Regions from separate parts of the Homo sapiens genome. Here all the other regions are linked to region 2. Evidence: promoter capture Hi-C in 16 types of primary human blood cells and fetal thymus (Javierre and others, 2016). All regions are on one chromosome and are shown on one strand. The core of a region is centred on a gene start or on the middle of the fragment in contact, and the rest is flanking DNA. Distances in the headings are between cores, read along the strand shown.

Region 1 (3,439 bases), core at 1-2,500, 160 kb after region 2:
GCTCCTGTGCCACCTCCAGCGGGGCCTTCACGTCTGCTGCGCACTTGTCCGGGGTGGGTTTCTTTGAGTAATCCCGCTCTCCAAAAATCGTGCTTCCTATTCGGACATTTGTAGATCCTACTTCAACCTGTGGGAAAAAAGAGAAGGTATCGAGGACCAGGTTTAAAATAATAAAATGGAGCCAGTGCTGAAGCTGTGCCCCCATTCTGGCTCTCAAGAGCCTTCTATGGACGGGGCGTGGTGGCTCACGCCTGTAATCCCAGCATTTTGGGAGGCCGAGGTGGGCAGATCACGAGATCAGGGGTTTGAGACCAGCCTGACCAACATGGAGAAACCCTGTCTCTATTAAAAATACAAAATTAGCCGGGCATAGTGGCACATGCCTGTAATCCCAGCTACTCGGGAGGCTGAAGCAGGAGAATTGCTTGAACCCAGGAGGTGGAGGTTGCGGTGAGCAGAGGTTGCGCCATTGCACTCCAGCCTGGGCAACAAGAGCGAAACTCCATCTCAAAAAAAACAAAAAAAAACAAAAACAGAGCCTTCTATGAATAATAACACAGCTGAAGATGGCTTCAGGATGATTGTTCTCCTCAGAGGTAAAATTGCCTCTGAGGGCATATATAGGAAACAAGTTGGGTTTCTCTGGATTTCCAGTGGTTGGAGAGTGTGGCTGGCACTCAGCTCGGAGGGGGTCAAGGACATTAGACGTCCAGTGTGAGACGCAGCCACACAGCACAGCCCACCTACCTCTCCAATGTGCCACGGTCAGGTAGATGAAAAAAATATCCTTATAATTATCTGATCAAATTCCATTTTACTTATCAATGCAATGTATTTTTGCACTGTTTTAAGAAATACAATTTTCCAGGAATGCAAGTTTATATTTTGATTTTTGAAACTTTATCAAGTTATTTGCTATTTCAGAAAATCATGTATTTGCGTTGCCAATCTAGCACACCTGTATCAGTTGATATTTACAGCTGTTGATGTACATATAAGATTGTTGGTGAATCTACACATAAGATTAAGCCTCGGACGGGTGCAGTGGCTCATGCCTGTAATCCCATCACTTTGGGAGGCCTAGGTGGGTGGATTACCTGAGGTCAGGAGTTCGAGACCAGCCTGGCCAATACGGTGAAACCCTGTCTTAACTAAAAATTCAAAAATTAGCTGGGCATTGTGGCAGGCGCCTGTAATCCCAGCTACTTGGGAGGCTGAAGCAGGAGAATCACTTGAACCTGGGAGGTGGAGGTTACAGTGAGCTGAGATCGCGCCACTGCACTCCGGCCTGGGCAATAGAGCGAGACTCAGTCTCCAAAAAAAAACAAACAAACATGAAGCCTTAGGCTGCTTCATCGTGATTTGCTGTGATACAGCCATGCCCACGCACTTACGTAATGAAATGCCTTTCCAAAAATTATAGCTTAATTTCTTATTTTCCTTTAGACTACACTTATGGAATTATGTTTATAATTTATGAAATTATAATTATAATTAATTTCTTATTTCCTTTAGATTACACTTACGGAATTATATTTTGTTTTAAAAGTTCAGATGTCAGGCTATAATTTCTATACATTTCTTTTCTTTCTTTTGTTTTTTTTTTTTTTTTTTTTTTTTTGAGATGGAGTCTCGCTCTGTTGCCAGCCAGGCTGGAGTGCAGTGGCGCGACCTCGGCTCACTGCAATCTCCGCCTCCTGGGTTCAAGCGATTCTCCTGCCTCAGCCTCCTGAGTAGCTGGGATTACAGGCGTGCGCCACCACGCCCAGCTAATTTTTGTATTTTTAGGAGAGACGGGGTTTCACCATGTTGGTCAGGCTGGTCTCGAACTCCTGACCTCGTGATCTGCCCGGCTCGGCCTCCCAAAGTGCTGGGATTACAGGCGTGCGCCACCGCACCTGGCTCTTTTCAAAAAAGAAAGGGCATGGGGAATGGGAGATGCTGGAATAGCTGACACTGGGTACCTTACTGCCATCCCAAGGCATTTCCAAGGCTTCTACAGCAAAGATCTGCTCTTGTGTCAGCCTCTCAGACCCCCTACCCCCACCCCTCGAGGCAGACAGGGCACTGGCAGGACACTCACCGCATGCTGGAAATCCGCGGACATGCCCATGCTCAGCTCAACCTGGTCAGCAGGGATGTTCAGCTTTTTACACAGCTCCTCCCGGAGGGACAATAACAGCTGACAGAAAGAGATGACACCTATTTTACTCCTGCCTTCTCTAACGATGCCCAAAAGTGTCTGAATCTGAACTTCTCTGACAACGGTTATGTATTCCTTATGATTTCAAGGCCTGCCAAAATTGCCAGACGTTACTGAAAGGGTTTTTTGCAAACTATCCCACTTTCGAGAAAACTATTAGTCACTGGAGAGGAAGAAATCTCATATTCTCTAAAGACTATGTTTTAGCCAAGTTCAAGTTGAGTTGAAAAAGGTTTGTGGGGCTTTGGAAACCTGTTCTTCCCTTTTCCTTCTGAGAAGAGTTCAAAAGAGGGCTAGAACACTCAACAGGCAGTGTCTGGGATGACTCTGCAATCCCCACTGCAGCCAGCCCTGCAATAGCACTCCAGCACCCTGCTTCTTTAGCACACGAGCAATCTCCCCGACCCCCCAGTACCTGGAAGTCTGGATTTGGTCCTTGACTAAGATCATGCCCAAAGCTTCCTATGGTCATCAGCCCCACAAACTCCAGGTTAGGACACTTGGCGTTTATGTGCTCCACGATGGCTATGGTCTCTGAAGGTGGAAGGCCATGTTTACCTTCAAGAAAAGAAACAGAAAACAGGTATACTGCAAGGGTAAATGGCCAGAGGAAGGCTCCATTTTCCTCCCTTCCTTACGACAGAAGAGGTGACCCCCAACAAGAGAACCTCTTGAAAGAGCCTCAAGTCCTAAAGAGTAACTTTATACTTGGGGTTTTCTATGTTGCTCTGCTTCTGGTCAGGTTCTAAATTTCTCAAGAAAAGAACTATCAGTTGGATTCTCTTTCCTCCATCTCAGGATTTCAGCTGAAAACAGCTAGGAGACATGGAAAAGAAAAAATCTTGCTTTTTTGGGATACCAGGAAGATTTGCATTGCCAAAATGCCAGATGAACCTGAGAATTACTTTTCTAAATCAAGAATTTTTATAGTTTTATTAATTTAATGGAGTTGCAAAAAATTTAGTATAAAGTACATGTTAAATATTTTTGGCTATATATTAGCAAAGTTTAACTGAACTTTCTAATTAACAACTGGAAGAGAAATCTGCAGCAAGCAATTATTTGTTATACAGTTATAAGAGCTATTGATATTGTCTTGCCCCCATTTATTAGGCGGAGATACTAGTAACATTTACTTCAGTCTTTAAATAGGGCATATTATAGCTAATTATCAAGAAATGATACAATAAAGACTTGACCTATAGTTGATTTCAGATTTCTATTGATAATTGGGAT
Region 2 (3,332 bases), core at 681-3,180:
TACAGGTGTGAGCCACCGTGCCCGACCTTTTTTTTTTTTTAAAGACAGGATCTCACTCTGTCAACCAGGCTGGAGTGCAGTGCCATGATCATAGCTCACTGCAATACCACCACGCCCAGCTAATTTTAAAATTTTTTGTGGAGTGGGTGGGGGGGGTCTCCCTATGTTGCTCAGGCTGGTCTTGAGCTCCTGGGCTCAAGTGATCCTCCCGCCTCAGTCTCCCAAAGCACTAGGATTGCAGGTGTGAGCCACCATGCCTGGCTGTGGCTGACCCTTTGTATGCCTAAATCAGGCAGTCATTGGCTACCCCTGTCAGTGGGGGTGAAACCTCCAGGTGGTTTCTAGGCTAGCTGACTCCTGCCAGCCAAGCACAATTCTCCAGAGAACACAGGCATATAAGCCTTGTCCACCAGCGAAGCAGCAGCTGGGGCCGGGCACATTGGTGGTGAAGGCCTTCTGGGTGAGACATCAACAGTGTTTGCAACAATCATTTAAAGAGTTATTTAACATCAGGCTGGGTGTGGTGGCTCATGCCTGTAATCCTAACACTTTGGGAGGCTGAGGTAGGCAGATCACTTGAGGTCAGGAGTTTGAGACCAGTCTGGCCAACGTGGTGAAACCCTGTCTCTACTAAAAATACAAAAAAAAGCCGGGCGCAGTGACTCACGCCTGTAATCCCAGCACTTTGGGAGGCCCAGGTGGGCAGATCACCTGAGGTCTGGAGTTTGAGACCAGCCTGATCAACATGGAGAAATCCCCCTCTCTACTAAAAATACAAAATTAGTTGGGTGTGGTGGCGCATGCCTGTAATCCCAGCTACTCGGGAGGCTGAGGCAGGAGAATCTCTTGAACCTGGGAAGCAGAGGTTGCAGTGAGCCGAGATCACACCACTGCACTCCAATGTGGGCAGCAAGAGCGAGACTCTGTCTCAAAAAAAAAAAAAAAAAAAAAGAGAGAGTCATTAAACATCAAAAGGAAAAGAAAGCAAGCAATATGCAGACTGACTCTATAGAGGCTGGCTCTTTTCTCCCCTTGGCCTCTGCTGTCTATACTTACTAGTTGGCTGTCATTGAAACTTAACAAATGGCCAGGTGTGGTGGCTCATGCCTGTAATCCCAGCAGTTTGGGAGGCCAAGGCAGGCAGATCACCTGAGGCAAGGAGTTCGAGACTATCGACAAAGTGAGACTCCATCTCAAAAAAAAAAAAAACCAAAAAAAGAAAGAAAAAGAAACTTAACAAACATATGTAGAAGTCTTGGCTCTAGATAACTGAGAGAAATAGGACTGGCTTAGTGAGTTGCCAATTATATTCTAATAATAGGATTCTTTATTAAAACAACTGTGGAAGAAAACAGTGTTTGCTTTTTATTCCTTTTGAAATCTGGGGCACTTTGCAAAATGGAAATCAATGCCTCGACTTGCATTGGTGTGTGATCTGGGGTTTTTGCTTCTGCAGGAGAAGCCCTATCTGGCTTATTGGCTGCCTGCCTTGCCCTATGTCTTTCTTTCTTTTTTTTTTTTTTAATTTGTATAAATGTGTGAAGTACAAGTGTAATTTTGTTAGATGCATACATCGCATAGTGGTGAAGTCAGGGCTTTTAGGGTATCCATAACCCCAACAATGTACATTGTATCTGTTAAGTAATCTCCCATTATCCTTGCCCTGTCATCTAAGGAGTGGGCTTGTTACTTTGGACTGAGCCACCTGGGGCTAGAGAAGAGAAGGCATTGAGTGAGGGAAACGGGCTTGGGAATTCCGGAGATTGTTATCCTGCCCTGCCCGCTGTCTGAGGGGATTCTCCTCAAGTACCCTGGAATGTTCCTGTGGCCCCTGTGGATCGCCACCACAAAGATCATGAGGTTCTGTTGCCCTGGCAACCCGTTGTCCAGCGCCTCTGCACTGGGGCTGCCAAGGTTCCAGGAAGAGGCAGGACTGCCCGGCCCAGCCTTGGAGGAAGACTTCTGGGCAGAAGCGGAACACAGGAGCAGAGACACATAGTCTTGGCTCCAGTTTCGTTTCAGTTATGCCCACCCTTTCAGTGTTCATGGATGTGCCCCTCGCCCACAAGCTAGAGGGCAGCTTGTTAAAGACCTACAAACAAGATGATTACCCGAACAAGATATTCTTAGCCTATAGAGGTAGATGCCTAGCAGTTCTGAAGTATAAGACTTAAGTGATGGTAACTGCCTCTAGGAGGACAGTGTTCCCTGCTGCAGGGGGAGGGGTGCAGCCCAAGCTTCTGTGGGTGGAGAGATCTTTTCTTGTTAACAGAATTACCCAGTGGGGAAAAGTGCAGATAAGGTCCCAGGTCATTCCATGCTCTCTGCCCTTCTCTGGGGGCTTCTAGGGATTTGGTGAGAGCTATGTCCTCTTCCACAACTCTATGCTTGGGGGCCTGCATGGCCATCCCACACTTCTTCAGATTCTTACCTCCTCTCTCTCTCTTTCTCTTTCTCTTCCTGTTCTTGAACCAAGAATGGTTCTCCAGATTGAGCTTTCTGCTATGCAACTGGGGCTCACCACTGTGAAAGTCAGGGTTACCTTTATTTAGCTTCATCTACCTATAACTCTCATTTTGCATATATATATATATATATATATATATATATATATATATATATTTTTTTTTTTTTTTTCTTGAGACAGGGCCTCACTCTGTTGCCCAGGCTGAAGTGCAGTGGCAAGATCTCAGCTCACTGCCACCTTTGCCTCCTGGGCTCAAACCATCCTCTTGCCTCAGCCTCCTGAGTAGCTGGGACTACAGGCGCTGGTCACCATGTCTGGCTGTTTTGTATTTTTTTGTAGAGACAGGGTTTCATCATGTTGCCCAGGCTGATCTTGAACTCCTGAACTCAAGTGATCCACCCACCTTAGCCTCCCGAAGTGCTGGGATTACAGGCCTGAGCCACCAATCCTGGGCTTGTATAATTTTTAACCTTTAAAATGGCATAGGTTTCAGTTGTCTTTTTTAAAAAGACAAAAATAATACACATTCACTAACAGCATATTCTTTTCATCAAGGAGAAAAGAAAAGGGAAAGTTGTATTTTCACAGGCACCTTCCCACAGCCCCATGGAGTCCAGGAGAGATTTGTTTGCAGGCTGTCTGCAGAGCTCAGCCCTGGGGGCCCAAACCAGGCATCTGGAGCTCCCTCTGTGGTTTTCCTCACAGTCTGCATGACAAATGAAGGCCATCCCTGGGTTTCTCTCGTGGTGCAGAAGACTCGACTACAGATTTCACAGGATCCCTCCCTGAATTATGAGTACTTGCCCACCATGGGCCTGAAATCATTCATCCAGGCCTCTCTAGCACTCCTCTTTGGAAAGCACAG
Region 3 (3,441 bases), core at 496-2,995, 130 kb after region 2:
TTGTATCACTTGAGCCCAGGAGTTCGAGGCTGCAGTGAGCTATGATGGCACCATTGCACTCCACCCTGGGCAAGAGTGAGACCTAGTCTCAAAAAAAAAAAAAATTCTGCAACTCCCAAATCCTCAATATTTTTATTTTTATTTTTTTGAGACGGAGTCTCGCTCTGTTGCCCAGGCTGGAGTGCAGTGGTGCAATCTCCGCCCACTGCAAGCTCTGCCTCCCGGGCTCACGCCATTCTCCTGCCTCAGCCTCCAGAGTAGCTGGGACTACAGGTGCCCGCCACCACGCCCGGCTAATTTTTTGTATTTTTAGTGGAGACGGGGTTTCACCGTGTTAGCCAGGATGGTCTCGATCTCCTGACTTCGTGATCCACCCGCCTCGGGCTCCCAAAGTGCTGGGATTACAGGCGTGAGCCACCGCGCCCAGCCACAAATCCTCAATATTAAAACCTGAGATCTCAGTTTGAGAGCTCTGCCCAGCGTGGGGCAGAGGTAGTGTTGGTGGGGGTGATTCCTCACATTTTCCCAACTCTTTAGCCTTTAACCCACTTCAAATACCCCAAATTCTTTAACAGAGAGCTGACAACAACAACAACAACAACAACAACAACAACAACAACACCATTGCAAGTGCATGTCATTTTAAATTTTCTTTTCTTTTCTTTTTTTTTCTGAAAGAGAGTCTCATTCTGTGGCCCAGACTGGAGTGCAATGGCACGATGTCGGCTCACTGCAACCTCCGCCTCTCGGGTTCAAGTGATTCTCCTGCCTCAGCCTCCAGAGTAGCTGGATTACAGGTGCCCGTCACCATGCATGGCTAATTTTTATCTTTTTAGTAGAGGCGGGGTTTCACCATGTTGGCCAGGTTGGTCTCAAACTCCTGACTTCAGGTGATCCGCCTGCCTCGGCCTCCCAGAGTGCTGGGATTATAGGTGTAAACTACCGCACCCAGCCCATTTTAAATTTCCTAGTAGCCACATTTAAAAAGTTTAAAAGTTGGGCCAGGTGCGGTGGCTCACACCTATAATCCCAGAACTCTGGGAGGCTGAGGCGGGCAGATCACCTGTGGTCAGGAGTTTGAGACCAGCCTGGCAAACATGGCGAAACCCCGTCTCTACCAAAAATACAAAATTAGCCAGGCGTGGTGGTGCATGCCTGTAATCCCAGCTACTTGGAGGGCTGAGGCAGGAGAATCACTTGAACCTGGGAGGCGGAGGTTCCAGTGAGCCGAGATTGCACCATTGCACTCCAGCCTGGGCAACAAGAGAAAAACTCTGTTGCCAAAAAAAAAAAAAAAAAAGTTGGCTGGGTGCAGTGGTTTACATCTGTAATCCCAGCACTTTGAGAGGCTGAGGCAGGCAGATCACCTGAGGTCAGGAGTTGGAGACCAGCCTGGCCAACATGGTGAAACTCCATCTCTACTAAAAATACAAAAAAATTAGCCAGGCGTGGTGGCAGGCGCCTGTAATCCCAGCCACTTGGGAGGCTGAGGCAGGAGAATCTCTTGAACCCAAGAGGCGGAGGTTGCAGTGAGCCGAGAACGCGCTATTGCACTCCAGCCTGGGTGACAAGAGTGAAACTCCGTCTCAAAAAAAAAAAAAAAAAACACACACACACACACAGTATAAAAGTTCTTTTTTTTTTTTTTTTTTTTTGTTTTTGAGACAGAGTCTTGCTCTGTTGCCCAGTCTGCAGTGCAGTGGCGTGATCTCGGCTCACTGCAAGCTCCGCCTCCCGGCTTCACGCCATTCTCCTGCCTCAGCCTTTTGAGTAGCCGGGACTACAGGCACCCGCCACCCTAATTTTTTTGTATTTTTTTTTTAGTAGAGACGGGGTTTCACTATGTTAGCCAGGATGGTCTTGATCTCCTGACCTCATGATCCACTCGCCTCGGCCTCCCAAAGTGCTGGGATTACAGGCATGATACGGCCACCGCGCCCAGCCTAAAAGTTCATTTTGAGAACATATGTTATTTAGGCCTGGTGCAGTGGCTCATGCCTGCAATCCCAGTGCTTTGGAAAGCTGAGTCAGGAGAATTGCTTGAAGCCAGGAGTTCAAGACCAGTCTGGGCAACATAGCAAGACCCTGTCTCTATAAAACATTTTTTAAAAAGTAGCCAGACGTGGTGGCCTGCCTGTAGTCCTAGCTACTTGGGAGGACGAGGCAAGAGGATCACTTGAGCCCAGGAGTTTGAGGCTGCAGTGAGCTGTGATTGCACCACTGCACTCCAGCCTGAGCGAGACCCTGTTTCTTTTCTTTTTTTTTGAGAGAGAGAGCCTTGCTCTGTTGCCAGGCTGGAGTGCAGTGGCATGCTCTCAGCTCACTGCAACCTCCGCCTCCTGGGTTCAAGCGATTCTCCTACTGCCGCCTCCCAAGTAGCTGGGACTACAGGTGCATGCCACCACACCCAGCTAATTTTTGTATTTTTAGTAGAAACGGGGTTTCACCATGTTGGCCAGGATGGTCTCGATCTCTTGATCTCATGATCCGCCCGCCTCATCTTCCTAAAGTGCTGGGATTACAGGCGTGAGCCACCTCACCCAGCCTAGCGAGACCCTGTTTCTAAAAATATATGTGTGTGTGTGTATATATATATATTTTTATATATATATGATCTAACTCAATGTATCCAAAATGTTATTTTTATATGTAATCAATATAAAATTATTAATGAGATACTTTCATTTTGATTTTGGTAGAAAGTCTTAGGACTCTGGAATGTCCTACTACTCTATTCTCTGCCAACACACCTAAATTCAGACCAGCTGCGGGCACTGGTGTCAGTGTGCAGGGCGGCAGCAGAGCGACAGATCGGGGACCTACCCCAGAGGAGGGCAAGGACAAGCCTCTGGCCCAGAATAGCTTATCTCTGGGACCGGCTCCCATCCCTCCCCAGGCTGCCCTGAGCCCAGACTTCATGCAGTCCCGGTCTCGGCCTCTCTCTCTCTTCCCTCCACCCACCCCTCTCTCTCTGAGGCAGCCTCTGTGTGTGCTGGGAGGCAAGGGCTGAGTTGAGTGGGGGGCAGCTGCAGCCCACGCTTCCGGTTTGGCTAGCCCAGCACCAACTCCAGCCCTGAAAGTCTTGAAATGAGATATTTTCTTGCTGCAGAGAACATGGTCCTGATGCCCCACCCTCTGACCCACTCGCAGATGCAGGCACCAGGCAAAGGCCTTTTCATCCTTCTCCTCCAAGGGGCCCCCTTCTTGCCAAATTTCTAGCTCTTGGAAAGACCTCAGGCAGATTGCTGTGTGATTCGAGTCCTCAGATACCCAGGGTTGGATCTTTTGGCCTTAACAACCTGGAGAGGTCTGAGGAAGTTTACTCTAGACCTAGATTATCCAGAGAGGGGCCTCCATTGACATTGAGTTGCTGGTTCTATTCTCCAGAGGGTGCCTTGTGGTGGGTCTATCTGGGGAGAGGAGGGCAGGCAGTTTTAGACA

Evidence for each region. Contacts are between HindIII fragments. The CHiCAGO score rates a contact against its expected background, and 5 or more counts as called.
Region 1: a fragment that was not itself captured here is called in contact with the fragment with the promoter of GOT1L1 in region 2 in 1 of 17 cell types (M2 macrophages); the score reaches 5.5 in M2 macrophages.
Region 3: a contact is called between a fragment that was not itself captured here and the fragment with the promoter of GOT1L1 in region 2, in 1 of 17 cell types (neutrophils). The highest score is 5.3, in neutrophils.

Annotation. Positions count from the first base shown.
Region 1 is chr8:37,774,661-37,778,099 of GRCh38, reverse strand. PLPBP (pyridoxal phosphate binding protein) reads right to left here. Exons shown (of 8, transcript NM_007198.4): 6 at 2,619-2,761; 7 at 2,084-2,182; 8 at 1-127. Among named protein-coding and RNA genes, the nearest start is that of PLPBP, 14 kb to the right of the region's middle. The HindIII fragment of the contact is 2,826 bases long and covers 1-2,663 here.
Region 2 is chr8:37,938,722-37,942,053 of GRCh38, reverse strand. GOT1L1 (glutamic-oxaloacetic transaminase 1 like 1) reads left to right here and starts at 1,930. Exons shown (of 9, transcript NM_152413.3): 1 at 1,930-2,139; 2 at 3,173-3,332. The coding sequence starts at 2,025. RefSeq lists an enhancer at 1,908-2,424. The HindIII fragment of the contact is 5,963 bases long and covers 1-2,239 here.
Region 3 is chr8:37,809,334-37,812,774 of GRCh38, reverse strand. All of the region lies in intron 1 of ADGRA2 (adhesion G protein-coupled receptor A2), which reads right to left. Among named protein-coding and RNA genes, the nearest start is that of ADGRA2, 14 kb to the right of the region's middle. RefSeq lists a silencer at 3,037-3,259. The HindIII fragment of the contact is 5,635 bases long and covers 1-3,441 here.